Linked DNA regions of Homo sapiens: region 1 is linked to region 2. Evidence: promoter capture Hi-C in human tissues and cell types (Jung and others, 2019). All regions are on one chromosome and are shown on one strand. Each heading gives the region's core, a stretch centred on a gene start or on the middle of the fragment in contact. The rest is flanking DNA. Distances are from core to core; before and after follow the strand shown. Region 1 overlaps MAPT (microtubule associated protein tau). Region 2 holds the start of STH (saitohin).

Region 1 (4,461 bases), core at 1,184-3,683, 56 kb before region 2:
CTGGGATGAAGAACTGGCATGTTCTGTGTGGCTCCAGGGCACTGAGCAGGACCCATTTGCCAAAGTCTCAGGGACACAGTTTCTAGCTATAGACAGAAAAATTTTCTGTCACTCAGAGGATGAAAATAGAATGAGCCCCCTTAAGAGGTAATGAGCTCCCTGTCATTGGAAGGATTCCAGAAGAGCTAGGTAACCACTTTAGGTGCTATCAAGGGGCTTTTTTCTTTAAAGTCCTTTCCAAAAGCTTCTGAGATTGCATAAACAATAGGAAGCCATCTTGGTGCTTTAACACAAACTCTCCCCAGTGATGAGGGTTGAGCCAAAGCCAGATTGGCAAGCAGAGAGGAGACTTGTGTACAAGGAGTTCCTCGAGTCAATTGCTTTTTCCTTGTTCTAGCCAGCCAGAGGGCTCCTGTTGGAAAACAGGAGACCGGAGAGGCTGAGGCCTGACCAAACCAGCTTCTGCAGGCCAGCTGGGAGGCCACAACTCCTACCTACGGGAAAACTGAAGGGCATCTCTATTTTTAGATTAGCAAAAGAAAATAAATTTAAGTTTGAGTCTCCTTTGCAACTTTTAAAAGACATCTTTATTGAGATGATCATTCACATTCTATAAAATTCCCCCACTTTGAGTTACAATTCAGTGGTTTTAGTCTTCCTTGATGATTTTGATGGTCTTTTCTTAAGGCTCTTGGAAGACCCAGAAGCCTCTCAGACACAGGTGGGTGTGGAGGGCGTAGCACAGAGGCAGACTTCTCATTTCCTGGGTCTCCCCTTTAATGACTCTCAGAGACCCCTCCTTCCCCCTGCCCCTGGCTTCTACCCCAGGGGTGTAGAGTTTTGCCATTTTCCAAGCAGAACTTCATTTCCTCTTCTGTGTCTACACTCTTTGTGCTTCTTTCTTGCCAGCTTTTTCTCCTTTGCCCGCCCTTCCTTCCTTCCTTCCCTCCCTCCCCCCTTCCCTCCTTCCCTCTTTCCCTCCTTCCCCCCTTCCACCCTTCCCCCCTTCCCCCCTTCCCTCCTTCCTTCCTTCCTTCCTGCCTGCCTTCCTTCCTTCCTTCCTTCCTTCCTTCCTTCCTTCCTTCCTTCCTTCCTGGTATGTGACTAATTTCTGTTTCAGGACATAAATGTTGTCCAGGCTGTTCTTTGGTCTTTCTGTTGGATAATGGACATTTGGCATTGAGAGAGGCTGCTTTTTCTGAAATCATGTTCTTGGGGCCCAGAACCTAGGTGTGTGCTTCTGACTTTGTTTTCTTCCTGATCCAAATTCTGATATGTCCATTTAAATTGATCTAGACCCACAGGGCACTGTGGGACAGATCCTCAGTGGAACATGACTCTGTAACGAGAGCATTTTGTTTTGTCAAAATGAGAACATATTATTGCCTTTCATCTGATTGTAAACATAATACATGTTTATAAAACAGTATAATGAGACAAAAATGTAGACACTAATAAGGGAAAATCTCCCTAATTGTATTTCTCTTCACAGAGAAAGCCCCTGTTGGGCATATATACTCTAGTTTGTTTATTTGTTTGACTACACATATATGTATTCTTTTCTTATGTATAAAAATTCTGAACATGCACATTTCTGCAACTACTGTTTTCACTTGATGATGCATGGACCTCTCTAGAGTGTACGTTTCTTCTTCCTTACAAAGCAGTTGGCTTCGCCCAGGGTGCACCAGGACACGGTTTTGGCTCTGTCCCCAGGGTGTCACGGGACCAGGGGATGATCTCACAGGGTCTGCCATCTGCCCTGCCTGGCCGGAGGCTGCATCGAGAGGGCCAAGGGGCACCACGTGTCGTGGGTACTGTCAAACAAGAGCCTTCAGAGCCTTCCACAGTCTTTCTTTTGCTTCCCAGCATTGCTTCCCCGCTGGTGGACTCTGAATCTAGAACTAGCTCCAGGCGCCTCTCCAAATTCAGACGGGAGCTGGGGCACTATTATAATGCAAATCTAGGCAAAGCCCTCCCAATACCAGGATCCAGAATGGGGTGGGGCCCTTTGCCCTGAAAAGCTGTTTAGTTTGAAAATACAAACAGGAGACAGAAAAGTTTGGCTAAATTAATGGATAAAGTTTTAACGATGGTAACCATAGTAGGGTTCATCGACAGCCAGCGATGGTTCTGAACACTTGACATGTATTAACTCACCTAATCCCCACATTTTACAGACAATGCAAAGGAGGCTCTGGGAGGTTGAGTGACTTGCCCCAAAGTCGCACAGCTCCTAAGTGAAGGATTCGGAGTGGACTCCAGGCAGCCTGGTCTGACTCCCTGCACTGCGCTGTGCTTATCTCTGGCCCCAATGCCGCCATGCAGAAGTGTCTGGGGGCACTTTGTCTCTGTCAGACAGAATTCGGAGATGTGTATGCTTGCCCTGGTATGGCACTTCTCTTTTTTTGAGACAGAATCTCACTCTGTCACCCTGGCTGGAGTGCAGTGGCATGATCTCAGCTCACTGCAACCTCCGCCTCCCAGGTTCAAGCAATTCTTGTGCCTCAGCCTCCCAAGTAGCTGGGATTATAGATGTGCACCATCGTGCCTAGCTAAATTTTTGTACTTTTAGTAAAGATGTTGTTTTGCTGTGTTGGCCAAGCTGATCTCGAACTTTTGGCCTCAAGTGATCTGCCTACCTCAGCCTCCCAAAGTGCTGGGATTACAGGCATGAGCCACCATGCCTGGCAGTGTGGCACTTCTTACGTGTGTTCAGCGGACACTGTTTATCTTCTGTCCCTCCAAGACGGTGCTGAGCTCAGGTCGTTCATTACTGGCAGACAACTGCTGATTTCCAACAGAATTGCCATCCTCTTCTCCCCTGCGACTTTCAGAGTGTGACCTCAGACTCAAAAATTAGAAGTGAAAACATCTTAAAAACTATCACCTTTTCTTCCTAATCCTCCTCTCCCCTCCCTGTCTTCCTTGTTGTCCCCATCTAATGAACTATCATGGCAAAAAGAGCCCATTTCTGGTCATTTTCTGTGGCCTTTCAAACTCCCACCTACCCCACTGCTCCTGGGTGCATTACCCGAAAGCTGAGACTTCAGTGCAGAAAGTGCCAGGCCCTCTGTCCCCCCAGATCGCCTTCCTTGTCTTCCCTGTGCTTGCCTGTCACATTGTGTGGGTTCCAGCGCTGGAAGGAATGAGGAACAGATTCTCTGGTTCTCCTTTTGAAGTTTACCTTCGCTCCACCACTTCTGAGACCTTCCCGGAAGTTGCCCCTTGTTTCTCTCCTCTCCAGGGCTGCCCCAGAGCTGCCTCTCACCTCTTCCTGCTGTCACCCCACCACCATCAGGGCAGAAGTTGGGACAAAGCCTCTCCTACTGGCTCCTGCTTTTCTCCCTTAGGTCCAGCCTCCTCTTCTCCATCTTCAGGAGTCTCCTTCTCCACTCACACGTCATGACTTCAGCACCTCGCATCAGTCCAGAATATGACTGCTTGTTCAAGTGCCACCTTTCTCATGCATTTTTTTCTAGTGACAATCACAGCCACCCTGTGGGGCAGGAGTGTCATCATCCCCATGTTTCAAATGAAGAATTGCAGTTCAGAGAGGGCAAGTGACTGGCCCAGCCTCAACAGCTAGCCAGTGGACCCCACCAGGGCTTCTGACTCCAGTCCGGGTTCCCTTTCCACCCAAATCCATGGAGGGAGCTGAGCCGAGAACAGGTGTCCTTCAGGAAGACGTGAAGCCAAAGCCTCCACCTCCAAACTCAGGGGCCCAGGGAGTCCAGGCACCCATCCACTCACAAGGCTGGATATGGTGCATTCCAGGAGAGGGGTTGGGGGCGAGTGGCCTCTCTGTGTACCCGTGGGGATAGATGCGCAAGTGGCATCGCCACATCGTGAGTCCTGGCTTCATGGGTGAGCTCCAGGTCCAACGAGAAGCCAAGCAGGGGGCCCTTCAAGCTCAGCTTTGGGCCCGGGTCGGGGTACAGGGTAGAGCGGGCCTCCCCAGCCCCTGCCATGAGGCCAAGGCAGTGCATCGTTCGCAGCGTACATTCAGAAACCAAAGCCTAGGAGCTGGTTATCATTCCGGTTTACAGCTGATGGAAGAGCAGGTGCTTCCGAGAACCCACAGTGCTCTTTGGCCAGTGACCCAAGGGTGCCTCTGAGAGGCCTCGCAGCACCCGGAGGTGCTGCTGAGGCAACGCCCTGACTGTAAGAAGGACCATTCATCCTCAGAGAGTGGCCGTGATGCTGCTGCGACAGTCCCACCATCCCTCCCGACTCTCACTCCCAACAGACTTCCCACTGTAAAGCTGAACTCTCCAGCAAATCACCTCTCGCCAGACTCTCTCCTCACTCTCTCTGGGTCCACTAGAGGTTCCTCAGCCTCTCTTTGCCTTGGTTTTCCCAGCTGTAAAATGGAGCAAAGAGGGCCTATGTACCCACAAAGGTGTGGTTGGAGCGACTCCTCCTACATTAGGGCCTCGAGTGGGGCTTCATGATTGGTTG
Region 2 (4,095 bases), core at 1,596-4,095:
CTCCAAAATCAGGGGATCGCAGCGGCTACAGCAGCCCCGGCTCCCCAGGCACTCCCGGCAGCCGCTCCCGCACCCCGTCCCTTCCAACCCCACCCACCCGGGAGCCCAAGAAGGTGGCAGTGGTCCGTACTCCACCCAAGTCGCCGTCTTCCGCCAAGAGCCGCCTGCAGACAGCCCCCGTGCCCATGCCAGACCTGAAGAATGTCAAGTCCAAGATCGGCTCCACTGAGAACCTGAAGCACCAGCCGGGAGGCGGGAAGGTGAGAGTGGCTGGCTGCGCGTGGAGGTGTGGGGGGCTGCGCCTGGAGGGGTAGGGCTGTGCCTGGAAGGGTAGGGCTGCGCCTGGAGGTGCGCGGTTGAGCGTGGAGTCGTGGGACTGTGCATGGAGGTGTGGGGCTCCCCGCACCTGAGCACCCCCGCATAACACCCCAGTCCCCTCTGGACCCTCTTCAAGGAAGTTCAGTTCTTTATTGGGCTCTCCACTACACTGTGAGTGCCCTCCTCAGGCGAGAGAACGTTCTGGCTCTTCTCTTGCCCCTTCAGCCCCTGTTAATCGGACAGAGATGGCAGGGCTGTGTCTCCACGGCCGGAGGCTCTCATAGTCAGGGCACCCACAGCGGTTCCCCACCTGCCTTCTGGGCAGAATACACTGCCACCCATAGGTCAGCATCTCCACTCGTGGGCCATCTGCTTAGGTTGGGTTCCTCTGGATTCTGGGGAGATTGGGGGTTCTGTTTTGATCAGCTGATTCTTCTGGGAGCAAGTGGGTGCTCGCGAGCTCTCCAGCTTCCTAAAGGTGGAGAAGCACAGACTTCGGGGGCCTGGCCTGGATCCCTTTCCCCATTCCTGTCCCTGTGCCCCTCGTCTGGGTGCGTTAGGGCTGACATACAAAGCACCACAGTGAAAGAACAGCAGTATGCCTCCTCACTAGCCAGGTGTGGGCGGGTGGGTTTCTTCCAAGGCCTCTCTGTGGCCGTGGGTAGCCACCTCTGTCCTGCACCGCTGCAGTCTTCCCTCTGTGTGTGCTCCTGGTAGCTCTGCGCATGCTCATCTTCTTATAAGAACACCATGGCAGCTGGGCGTAGTGGCTCACGCCTATAATCCCAGCACTTTGGGAGGCTGAGGCAGGCAGATCACGAGGTCAGGAGTTCGAGACCAACCTGACCAACAGGGTGAAACCTCGTCTCTACTAAAAATACAAAAATACCTGGGCGTGGTGGTGGTGCGCGCCTATAATCCCAGCTACTCAGGAGGCTGAGGCAGGAGAATCGCTTGAACCCAGGAGGCAGAGGTTGCAGTGAGCCGAGATAGTGCCACTGCACTCCAGTTTGAGCAACAGAGCGAGACTCTGTCTCAAAACAAAATAAAACAAACCAAAAAAACCCACCATGGCTTAGGGCCCAGCCTGATGACCTCATTTTTCACTTAGTCACCTCTCTAAAGGCCCTGTCTCCAAATAGAGTCACATTCTAAGGTACGGGGGTGTTGGGGAGGGGGGTTAGGGCTTCAACATGTGAATTTGCGGGGACCACAATTCAGCCCAGGACCCCGCTCCCGCCACCCAGCACTGGGGAGCTGGGGAAGGGTGAAGAGGAGGCTGGGGGTGAGAAGGACCACAGCTCACTCTGAGGCTGCAGATGTGCTGGGCCTTCTGGGCACTGGGCCTCGGGGAGCTAGGGGGCTTTCTGGAACCCTGGGCCTGCGTGTCAGCTTGCCTCCCCCACGCAGGCGCTCTCCACACCATTGAAGTTCTTATCACTTGGGTCTGAGCCTGGGGCATTTGGACGGAGGGTGGCCACCAGTGCACATGGGCACCTTGCCTCAAACCCTGCCACCTCCCCCCACCCAGGATCCCCCCTGCCCCCGAACAAGCTTGTGAGTGCAGTGTCACATCCCATCGGGATGGAAATGGACGGTCGGGTTAAAAGGGACGCATGTGTAGACCCTGCCTCTGTGCATCAGGCCTCTTTTGAGAGTCCCTGCGTGCCAGGCGGTGCACAGAGGTGGAGAAGACTCGGCTGTGCCCCAGAGCACCTCCTCTCATCGAGGAAAGGACAGACAGTGGCTCCCCTGTGGCTGTGGGGACAAGGGCAGAGCTCCCTGGAACACAGGAGGGAGGGAAGGAAGAGAACATCTCAGAATCTCCCTCCTGATGGCAAACGATCCGGGTTAAATTAAGGTCCGGCCTTTTCCTGCTCAGGCATGTGGAGCTTGTAGTGGAAGAGGCTCTCTGGACCCTCATCCACCACAGTGGCCTGGTTAGAGACCTTGGGGAAATAACTCACAGGTGACCCAGGGCCTCTGTCCTGTACCGCAGCTGAGGGAAACTGTCCTGCGCTTCCACTGGGGACAATGCGCTCCCTCGTCTCCAGACTTTCCAGTCCTCATTCGGTTCTCGAAAGTCGCCTCCAGAAGCCCCATCTTGGGACCACCGTGACTTTCATTCTCCAGGGTGCCTGGCCTTGGTGCTGCCCAAGACCCCAGAGGGGCCCTCACTGGCCTTTCCTGCCTTTTCTCCCATTGCCCACCCATGCACCCCCATCCTGCTCCAGCACCCAGACTGCCATCCAGGATCTCCTCAAGTCACATAACAAGCAGCACCCACAAGGTGCTCCCTTCCCCCTAGCCTGAATCTGCTGCTCCCCGTCTGGGGTTCCCCGCCCATGCACCTCTGGGGGCCCCTGGGTTCTGCCATACCCTGCCCTGTGTCCCATGGTGGGGAATGTCCTTCTCTCCTTATCTCTTCCCTTCCCTTAAATCCAAGTTCAGTTGCCATCTCCTCCAGGAAGTCTTCCTGGATTCCCCTCTCTCTTCTTAAAGCCCCTGTAAACTCTGACCACACTGAGCATGTGTCTGCTGCTCCCTAGTCTGGGCCATGAGTGAGGGTGGAGGCCAAGTCTCATGCATTTTTGCAGCCCCCACAAGACTGTGCAGGTGGCCGGCCCTCATTGAATGCGGGGTTAATTTAACTCAGCCTCTGTGTGAGTGGATGATTCAGGTTGCCAGAGACAGAACCCTCAGCTTAGCATGGGAAGTAGCTTCCCTGTTGACCCTGAGTTCATCTGAGGTTGGCTTGGAAGGTGTGGGCACCATTTGGCCCAGTTCTTACAGCTCTGAAGAGAGCAGCAGGAATGGGGCTGAGCAGGGAAGACAACTTTCCATTGAAGGCCCCTTTCAGGGCCAGAACTGTCCCTCCCACCCTGCAGCTGCCCTGCCTCTGCCCATGAGGGGTGAGAGTCAGGCGACCTCATGCCAAGTGTAGAAAGGGGCAGATGGGAGCCCCAGGTTATGACGTCACCATGCTGGGTGGAGGCAGCACGTCCAAATCTACTAAAGGGTTAAAGGAGAAAGGGTGACTTGACTTTTCTTGAGATATTTTGGGGGACGAAGTGTGGAAAAGTGGCAGAGGACACAGTCACAGCCTCCCTTAAATGCCAGGAAAGCCTAGAAAAATTGTCTGAAACTAAACCTCAGCCATAACAAAGACCAACACATGAATCTCCAGGAAAAAAGAAAAAGAAAAATGTCATACAGGGTCCATGCACAAGAGCCTTTAAAATGACCCGCTGAAGGGTGTCAGGCCTCCTCCTCCTGGACTGGCCTGAAGGCTCCACGAGCTTTTGCTGAGACCTTTGGGTCCCTGTGGCCTCATGTAGTACCCAGTATGCAGTAAGTGCTCAATAAATGTTTGGCTACAAAAGAGGCAAAGCTGGCGGAGTCTGAAGAATCCCTCAACCGTGCCGGAACAGATGCTAACACCAAAGGGAAAAGAGCAGGAGCCAAGTCACGTTTGGGAACCTGCAGAGGCTGAAAACTGCCGCAGATTGCTGCAAATCATTGGGGGAAAAACGGAAAACGTCTGTTTTCCCCTTTGTGCTTTTCTCTGTTTTCTTCTTTGTGCTTTTCTCTGTTTTCAGGATTTGCTACAGTGAACATAGATTGCTTTGGGGCCCCAAATGGAATTATTTTGAAAGGAAAATGCAGATAATCAGGTGGCCGCACTGGAGCACCAGCTGGGTAGGGGTAGAGATTGCAGGCAAGGAGGAGGAGCTGGGTGGGGTGCCAGGCAGGAAGAGCCCGTAGGCCCCGCCGATC

The links. The method cuts DNA at HindIII sites, captures the fragments that hold promoters and counts their contacts. A contact is called where the count stands out against the background at its distance.
Region 1: a contact is called between a fragment that was not itself captured here and the fragment with the promoter of STH in region 2, in 1 of the 25 tissues and cell types used here (dorsolateral prefrontal cortex).

What each region holds. Positions count from the first base shown.
Region 1 is chr17:45,940,662-45,945,122 of GRCh38, forward strand. The region is part of intron 1 of MAPT (microtubule associated protein tau); the gene reads left to right. Among named protein-coding and RNA genes, the nearest start is that of MAPT-IT1, 47 kb to the left of the region's middle. RefSeq lists an enhancer at 1,750-2,250. The HindIII fragment of the contact is 5,172 bases long and covers 1-4,461 here.
Region 2 is chr17:45,996,405-46,000,499 of GRCh38, forward strand. STH (saitohin) reads left to right here and starts at 2,846. Exons shown (of 1, transcript NM_001007532.3): 1 at 2,846-3,290. The coding sequence starts at 2,876. The coding sequence ends at 3,262. It overlaps MAPT (microtubule associated protein tau), which reads left to right. Exons shown (of 13, transcript NM_001377265.1): 9 at 1-260. The HindIII fragment of the contact is 3,441 bases long and covers 348-3,788 here.